2 separate regions of the Homo sapiens genome follow, and region 2 is linked to region 1. Evidence: promoter capture Hi-C in 16 types of primary human blood cells and fetal thymus (Javierre and others, 2016). All regions are on one chromosome and are shown on one strand. The core of a region is centred on a gene start or on the middle of the fragment in contact, and the rest is flanking DNA. Distances in the headings are between cores, read along the strand shown.

Evidence for each region. The method cuts DNA at HindIII sites, captures the fragments that hold promoters and counts their contacts. A CHiCAGO score of 5 or more calls a contact.
Region 2: a fragment that was not itself captured here is called in contact with the fragment with the promoter of S100A16 in region 1 in 4 of 17 cell types (total B cells, fetal thymus, naive B cells and 1 more); the score reaches 6.1 in total B cells.

Annotation. Positions count from the first base shown.
Region 1 is chr1:153,610,798-153,615,065 of GRCh38, reverse strand. S100A16 (S100 calcium binding protein A16) reads left to right here and starts at 1,929. Exons shown (of 3, transcript NM_080388.3): 1 at 1,929-2,114. S100A14 (S100 calcium binding protein A14) reads left to right here. Exons shown (of 4, transcript NM_020672.3): 4 at 44-811. The coding sequence ends at 181. The HindIII fragment of the contact is 6,157 bases long and covers 1-2,406 here.
Region 2 is chr1:154,020,988-154,025,255 of GRCh38, reverse strand. It overlaps NUP210L (nucleoporin 210 like), which reads left to right. Exons shown (of 40, transcript NM_207308.3): 31 at 1,959-2,134; 32 at 2,913-3,130. Among named protein-coding and RNA genes, the nearest start is that of RPS27, 32 kb to the right of the region's middle. The HindIII fragment of the contact is 2,345 bases long and covers 733-3,077 here.

The DNA of each region.
Region 1 (4,268 bases), core at 680-3,179:
AAGGTGCTGCATCCCTGAGCCATGGTTTCTTCACTCCCCTCAGAGCAACTGTGGCCTGGAAGAGAAAATTGCCAACCTGGGCAGCTGCAATGACTCTAAACTGGAGTTCAGGAGTTTCTGGGAGCTGATTGGAGAAGCGGCCAAGAGTGTGAAGCTGGAGAGGCCTGTCCGGGGGCACTGAGAACTCCCTCTGGAATTCTTGGGGGGTGTTGGGGAGAGACTGTGGGCCTGGAGATAAAACTTGTCTCCTCTACCACCACCCTGTACCCTAGCCTGCACCTGTCCTCATCTCTGCAAAGTTCAGCTTCCTTCCCCAGGTCTCTGTGCACTCTGTCTTGGATGCTCTGGGGAGCTCATGGGTGGAGGAGTCTCCACCAGAGGGAGGCTCAGGGGACTGGTTGGGCCAGGGATGAATATTTGAGGGATAAAAATTGTGTAAGAGCCAAAGAATTGGTAGTAGGGGGAGAACAGAGAGGAGCTGGGCTATGGGAAATGATTTGAATAATGGAGCTGGGAATATGGCTGGATATCTGGTACTAAAAAAGGGTCTTTAAGAACCTACTTCCTAATCTCTTCCCCAATCCAAACCATAGCTGTCTGTCCAGTGCTCTCTTCCTGCCTCCAGCTCTGCCCCAGGCTCCTCCTAGACTCTGTCCCTGGGCTAGGGCAGGGGAGGAGGGAGAGCAGGGTTGGGGGAGAGGCTGAGGAGAGTGTGACATGTGGGGAGAGGACCAGCTGGGTGCTTGGGCATTGACAGAATGATGGTTGTTTTGTATCATTTGATTAATAAAAAAAAATGAAAAAAGTGAAACATGTTGTCTTGACTGGACACCCCCTCCCTGAGGGTCCACGGGTGAGAGGAGCTTGGGGGTGAAAGGCAAAGTCATTGGTAGGGTGGGGCACGTGGGGCTGGAGTGGTTGGCTGTGGAAGTGAATGGGGACTCACTTTTCCCTATGGGTTTGGGTTGAGGGTGGTACCAGGTCCAAAAGGGCAACATGGTCCTCTCTGAGGGACAGGCTCCTCTTTGCCAATGGGCGGGCCCTCTTATAGGAGAGGAGGGTATGTGTGCACACTTGGGGAAAAGGATATTAGTCCAGGTGTTCTGAGCCCTGGCTGGCACAACCAGGGAAATGGGGTGGGTGGGGGTGGGGGGCGGTTAGAAACAGGCTGACTGGCCTGAGTTTGAATCTCAGATCTGCCACTTATCATTGGAATTTTGGGCATGCTCTTAGTATCAGTTTCCTCATCTGTAAAATGGGGGATATGAATATTACTTCCACAGGATTGCCAGGAGGACAATGCCACACATCATGTAAAGCACTTACAGAGAGCCTGACACATGGTGAGTGCCCAGTGACCCAATATCATTCCCGCTGGAGTGGGCAAGTGGGCCCCTCTTTGGTTTCAGCTGCTGCCCTAGTGTAGGGAGGTCGAGCTGGCCAGTTTCCTTGGGTATCTTAGGGAAACGGTGGGGTGTGGGGAGTTTCCAGAGGAGTCTTCTGGTGTACATGAGGGATCTTAGGGCTGGGTCTCAGTAGAGCTGATGGGTCAGACTAGAGACAGAAGACCAGGGAGCCAGACAGGTCCCTGGCATCTGCCTTCTGATTTGAGCACAGAAGTCGGGCGTTACTCCTGAAACCCCAGTGGCAAGGAGGTTTCTGTGGCCAGTTAGGCTGGCCTGGAATGTTAACTGAACTTGTCTGTTGGGAGCCCCTGAAACTGGGATCCCAGTGACCCAGGTGAGAAAGGCAGGTGATAGTCCTTCCCTTCCTTTCTCTACCCTGTCAGGTTCTGCTCAGCCCCTGCGGGGCTGGGAGGGTGGGGTTGGGGGAGTGCCAGTTTTCACCACTCCCTCTGGGATGGGGGTAGAGGGGTGTGAAAAAAGGTGTGTATCCCTTTAACAAGGGCCCAACCCCAGGGCCAAGTCAAGAAGGAGCTCAGCCACTATCTCCCCACCGAGCCAGCTCAGCGGGCAGGGCTGGGAGGGAGTGGGACAGATTCTGGGAGTGCAGCGGGGAGGAGTCCCGGCTGGGCTGAGCGCAGGGAGCTGCTTGGCAGTGCCAGAGCCCAGGCCCCAGAGCCCTGCTGGAGAGGAGGCAGACTGAGGCAGCAGGTGAGCACCCTGGGCCCGGCCTGGGAGGTCTTCGGCTGCCGGAGGGCCCCACAGTATTGGGAGGCCAGGAGAAGGGGCAGTGAAGGGGGCCTGGGGAGAGGGGCCTGCCAGAGAGCAGGCAGGAAGATTTTGGTAATTATTAACTTTCTCCCACAGGCCAGTTTAGGAATGGGGAGTCCTGGGGGGTTGGGGGCTGGGTGAGGCCTTTAGAGGGATGGATGGGATGGTGAGACCCCCTCCCTGCCGCAGCAGCTGACGGAGCTCCTCTCCAGGGGCAGAGTATTTGGAAGCTTTGACCACAGCTACTCGATCCTCCCCAAAAGGAGAGGACAAATGCGTGTTGGTCTGGGTTGGGGGTGGTCAGAGCTTGGACACAGGCCTTGCTGGGCTCTGGGAGCTGTGTCCTAGGGGAGGTGATGGGGTCCAGAAGGAACCAGGCAGTTTCCAGGGAGCCTGAGATTCCGAGAAGAGGAGGCGGGGGCTGAGGTGGCGTCCCCTCTACCTCACGACCCAAGCAGACCCCACTGTGTTCCAGGAGCTGTTCCTTGAGAGGGATGATGAGATCTGGGAGGAACCCGAGTGAGGCTGTGGGGAGCCTGCAAGCTCCCTGGGAGAGGGAAAGATAGAGAGAGGGGGGCTGAACCTCGGCAGCTCCTCCACCTCAGGACCCAGGCAGGCCCCGGCTTGAGCTGCTTTTCTTGGCAGAGCCACCTGCACTATGGGAGCCTTCCCCTGCCCAGCCCAGTGGGGATGGTGGTGAGGGCAGGGGTGCTGGGGAGCTGGCTCTGCCTTTCCCCACATTCTAGTAAGTGTTGTTGAGGCTGGGGTAGCTGTGTGTGTGTTGGGGGAGGCGGGGGCAAGATCCACACTGAACTCCTCCAACTTCACTTGCCTGGAAAAATTTCAGAGGCTGGCTTCTTGCTCCAAGAACTGAAGTGAGTGGAAGGGTGATGGGTCACCCAAGCAGAGGGGATCAGGAATGGCCGAGGTCCTTGCTCGGTGTGTGTGTGTGTGTGTGTGTGTGTGTGTGTGTGAGAGAGAGACAAAGAGAGTTAGACGCAGAATCCTGTGAGGATGGTAAGGGGTGAGGCAGGGCCAAGCAGGCCCCACTATGCTCCGGGAGCTGTTCCTGGAGAGGGCCTTGTGGAATTGGAGAAAGAACACAGGAAGGAGCAGAGAATGGAACAGCTGAGGCTGGAGAAATTTCATTTGAAACAGCCTTGCTGATAGAGGTGGCATTGTCAGCCCAGTTCGGATGGCACCTTCCCTATATATTGAAGTTAGAGAGGACAAATGAGTAAATGAAAAAGGGAATGAATGAATGAATGTGCAAGAGAGTGAATGCATTATTGAATGAGCAAGTGAATGAATGAGAGTGAATGAATGAGCCAATAAATGAATGAGTAAGCAAACTCATGGTGCCTAAGTGAGCAAATGAATTCCAGGTAGATGGAAGGGACACAGAGAATCCATACTTAGGCTTGACAGTGGGCTAGGCTCTGGAGAGAACAGTGACCAGGAGGGACAGGAGTCTAGGGACACATCCCAACACTTGGAAAAAACTTAAGACTCCAGAGGTGTCTGTGGGGTGAGAAGAGAAGGTGGACTTAGGACGGTGTGGTGGATGTTTGGAGCTCCAGACGGAAGGAGCCTGGGGATGCTAGGGGTGGTTAGGAGGCATTTGGAGGGCGTGGAGCCCAGAACCTGGGGGTGGGAGGGTGGGGCTGGAGTGGCTGGGATCCAGGGGCATGGAGTCAGGGCAATTTGGGCTTTTGGAGAAGTCAGCAAGCTGGGCTGAGGTGGGTGGGGTGGGGGTGGGAGACTGCTTGTTGCTCAATGATGAATCAGCCAAGGGGAAGACAATGAGAACATTGGGGTAGGGCTGGAGGCCTGAGGTGAGAGGGCCCATTGGAGGACACGTGGTCCTCCCATTCCCACATTTCTGGAAGGCTCCTGTGTACACTGTCCACTCAGGCCAGGATCTACCTGTGGCAGGGCCAATGCAGGAACGACCTCCTGCTTGACCTTTCTAGGAAGCGGCTGATGGGATAGAACATCTGCCCGACCCCTGAACCAGGAGACCCGGGGCCTGGCTGGTGGGGGAATGGGGCAGGCGGGAGGAGCAGGTGGCTTGTGGGGTGGGTGGGGTGGCAG
Region 2 (4,268 bases), core at 656-3,155, 410 kb before region 1:
GAGCCCTTGTTATAAAACAGATCAGCCTGGCCGGGCACGGTGGCTCACGCCTGTAATCCCAGCACTTTGGGAGGCTGAGGCAGGCGGATCACGAGGTCAGGAGATCGAGACCATCCTGGCTAACACGGTGAAACCCCTTCTCTACTAAAAATACAAAAAATTAGCTGGGCGAGGTGGCGGGCGCCTGTAGTCCCAGCTACTCAGGAGGCTGAGGCAGGAGAATGCCGTGAACCCCGGGGGGCGGAGCCTGCAGTGAGCCAAGATCACGCCACTGCACTCCAACCTGGGCGACAGCAAGACTCCATCTCAAAAAAAAAAAAAAAAAAAAAAAAACAGATCAGCCTAAATTTATATGATTGTCTTCCTAGCAGCTTTGGCAAAAGGACTGGTATCGGAGGAGTGTAGAATGATTGCTATCAAAATTGGCTGGGCTGGGTGACTCACGCCTGTAAGCCCAGCACTTTGGAAGGCTGAGGCAGGAGAATCACTTGAGGCCAAGAGTTTAAGACCAGCCTGAGCAACATAATGAGACCCCTATCTCTACAAAAAATGAAAAAAAAAAAAAAATAGCCGGGCTTGGTGGCACATGTCTGCAGTCCTAGCTGCTTGGGAGGCTGAGGTGGAGGATCACACGAACCTAGGAGTTCGAGGCTGCTTTGTGCTGCAATTGAACTGCTGCACTGCAGCCTGGAAAACAAAGCAACAATCTGTTTCTTTTTAAAAAATTAAGCTTTGCTACAAGAATTAAAAAATTGAGAAAAGACCTCAGAGATAAGTTAGTCTTAACACGAAAAAAAATTTTAGACATTAAACATCTACTATATACTATGTTCGTCATTGTATGTATATTATCTCTTTTAACTACCACAAAAGCCCTATGAGGTAGGCATTATTATCCCCATCTAACTGTTAACTGATAAGAAACCTGAGACCCAGAAAAGTTACATGAGGCTATGAAATGATAAAGCTATGATTCAAACGCGGGCTTCACTTACTGTATCACAGCTCTCTTACAGTGTGAAAACACAATATAGATTGTGTTCCTGATAAGTAATTGATTATTTAACCATAAATATTGAGCACTCTGCATGAAATGGATGAATTATAGTCCTTTCCTCATAAAGCTCCAGCTTCTCTTCACATTCCCACAGCTTTAAAAATTAAAAACCTGGCTGGGCACAGTGGCTCACGCCAATCCCAGCACTTTGGGAGGCCGAGCCGGGTGGATCACGAGGTCAGGAGTTCAAGACCAACCTGGCCAAGATGGTGAAACCCCCATCTCTACTAAAAATACAAAAAAATTAGCCGGGCATTGTGGCGGGCGCCTGTAATCTCAGCTACTCAGGAGGCTGAGGCAGAGAATTGCTTGAACCCAGGAGGCGGAGGTTGCAGTAAGTTGAGATTGCACCACTGCACTCCAGCCTGGGCGAGACAGCAAAATTCCGTCTCAAAAAAAAAAAAATTAAAAACCCATTTCAAGCCGGGCACAGTGGCTCACGCCTATAATTCCAACACTTTGGGAGGCCAAGGCGGGCAGATCACTTGAGGTCAGGAGTTTGAGACCAGCCTGGCCAACATGGTGAAACCCCATCTCTACTAAGAATAGAAAAATTAACCAGGCGTGGTGGCAGATGCCTGTAATCACAGCTACCTGGGAGGCTGAGGTAGGAGAATTGCTTGAATGCAGGAGGCAGAGGTTGCAGTGAGTCAAAATCATGCCGCTGCACTCCAGCCTGGGTGACAGAGTGAGATTCTGTCTCAAAAAAAAAAGAAAAGAATTTCCTATGCTGCTATGCTGTCATATTTCTTTTCACTCTGACTTAAGTCATCTCACATCAAAAGCTATTTCCTATGGAAAAGAAACATCACTCTTTATCATTGATTATAAGTCTCAGAATATGGTTGCAGCACTTCTCCAGTGCATCTTTCTCTGTACCAGTAGGTTTTGTCTCCCACAGGTAGCACCGGTGACATACCTGCGAGTGAGCAGCCAACCCAAGCTATACACAGCCCAAGGAAGGACCCTGTCAGCATTTCCCTTGGGCATGTCTCTTACCTTCACTGTTCAGTTTTATAATAGTATCGGAGAGAAATTCCACACACACAATACCCAGCTTTATCTGGCTCTGAACAGGTATGGAAGTCAAAGGAATGGTATTGACACTATGGTAGAAATCTTGCATATTAGGCTAGTATTATATAGCAGCTCCAGTAAATTCCTCTCACATTCTGAATTTGGAAGTTGATCTTTCTTTTGTTAAAAAAAATTTTTTTAAGTGAGGCCAGGTGGGTGGCTCACACCTGTAACCTCAGCACTTTGGGAGGCTGAGGAGGGAGGATCACTTGGGCCCAGGAGTTCGAGACCAGCCTGGACAACATGGTGAAACCCCATCTCTACAAAAATACAAAAATTAGCTGGGTGTGGTAGCGTGTGCCTGTAGTCCCAGCTACTAGGGAGGCTGAGGTGGGAGGATCACTTGAGCCCAGGAGGCAGAGGTTGCAGTGAGCAGAGATTGCGCCACTGCACCCCAGCCTGGGTGACCAATTAAGACTGTCTTAAAAAAAAAAAAAAAAAAAAAAGACCAGACTTAGGCAATGGTATTAGTTGTCACTTAAGAAAAAATGCAGGATATCTTAAATCTGTCAAGTTCTAATTCACTAAAAGATCCATAGGGAGCTAACTGGAGTATTATTATCAAAAGGCTTTACTGGAAAAAAAAAAAAGCCTTCCTGGGAACTATACGTATGAAGGTAATAGACTGATCCTTGGCCCATACTTACTTACTCTTTATTGTGGAATTCCTTCTGAACTTCTGAGCTGTTGAATATAAAATGTGGTAGGGTGTTCTCCAGAACTATTTTCTAACTATTGTCTCTTTTTAAAGATTTCTACCTTTAATGTCTACTTGCAGAGATGACTTGCTGCATATTGGACCAGGGAATAAGAACTATACTTACATGGCCCAGGCTGTGAACAGAGGGCTGACACTTGTGGGGCTTTGGGACCGGAGACATCCAGGCATGGCAGATTATATTCCTGTTGCTGTAGAGCATGCCATTGAGCCAGACACCAAGCTTACCTTTGTTGGAGATATCATCTGCTTCAGTACTCACCTTGTCAGCCAGCATGGTATGTATACATTCCCTTTCTCAAACTTACAATTGATAGTTGTGGGGATTAAAAAGCAGTTATTAAAAAAAAAAGCAGTTATTAATCCCTTGGACTGGTATAGTGGTTTATACCCATAATCTCAGCCCTTTGGGAGGCCAAGCTGGAGAGGTCACTTAAGGCCAGAAGTTCAAGAAAGCAATTAATCCCCTAGAATATTTTTTTCCAAATTATCTAAAATCTGAGGGACTCTCTGAGAAAGAAAATAATTTTGAGTATTTTATTATTTGTAATGTTACTGATAATTTTTAGCTTAATGCCTGTTTCACTCAATAGCCAGCCAATTAGAAGCCAGCCAGTAATATTGATCAAGAGTCTATTGGATACATAGCTCTATTTTATATTATGTAGATAGTGCAGGGTACTGTGTCTTCTCCTCCATTCCCAGCTTTTGAAGGAGGGTAATTACTATATTGAAGGACAGTAAAGGATAACAGGAAGGAAAGGGCAATAAGGCTTTAGTTCTAAGAACTAGTTATGTGTATGCTATTTTGTGAGGCACATTTGAAGGCCTAAGTCCTAACATATCATCATTGTAATAAGGTTTTTTCTTTTACCCGGATAAACTATACTTTGTTTTGTTTTTTTTTTTAGAGACAGAGTCTCACTCTGTCATTCAGGCTGGAGGGCAGTGGGCAGTGACATGATCTCTGCTCACTGCAACCTCTGACTCCTGGGTTCAAGCGAGTCTCCTGCCTTAGCCTCCCAAGTAGCTGGGACTACAGGCACACAACACCACGCCTGGCTAATTTTTATATTTTTTATACAAGGGGTTGGCCCCTGGCCAACTATACTCTTGAAAACAAAGCATTTCTGTCCTAAGTACTGAGTTAAAAATAAAATCATAAGCCAGGTGCGGTGGCCCATGCCTGTAATCCCAGCACTTTGGGAGGCTGAGGTGGCGGGATCACGAGGTCAAGAGATCGAGACCATCCTGGCCAACATGGTGAAACCCCATCTCTACTAAAAATACAAAAATTAGCTGTGCATGGTGGCACACGCCTGTAGTCCCAGATACTCGGGAGGCTGAGGCAGGAGAATCGCTTGAACCTGGGAGTTGGAGGTTGCAGTGAGCCGAGATCGTGCCACTGCACTCCAG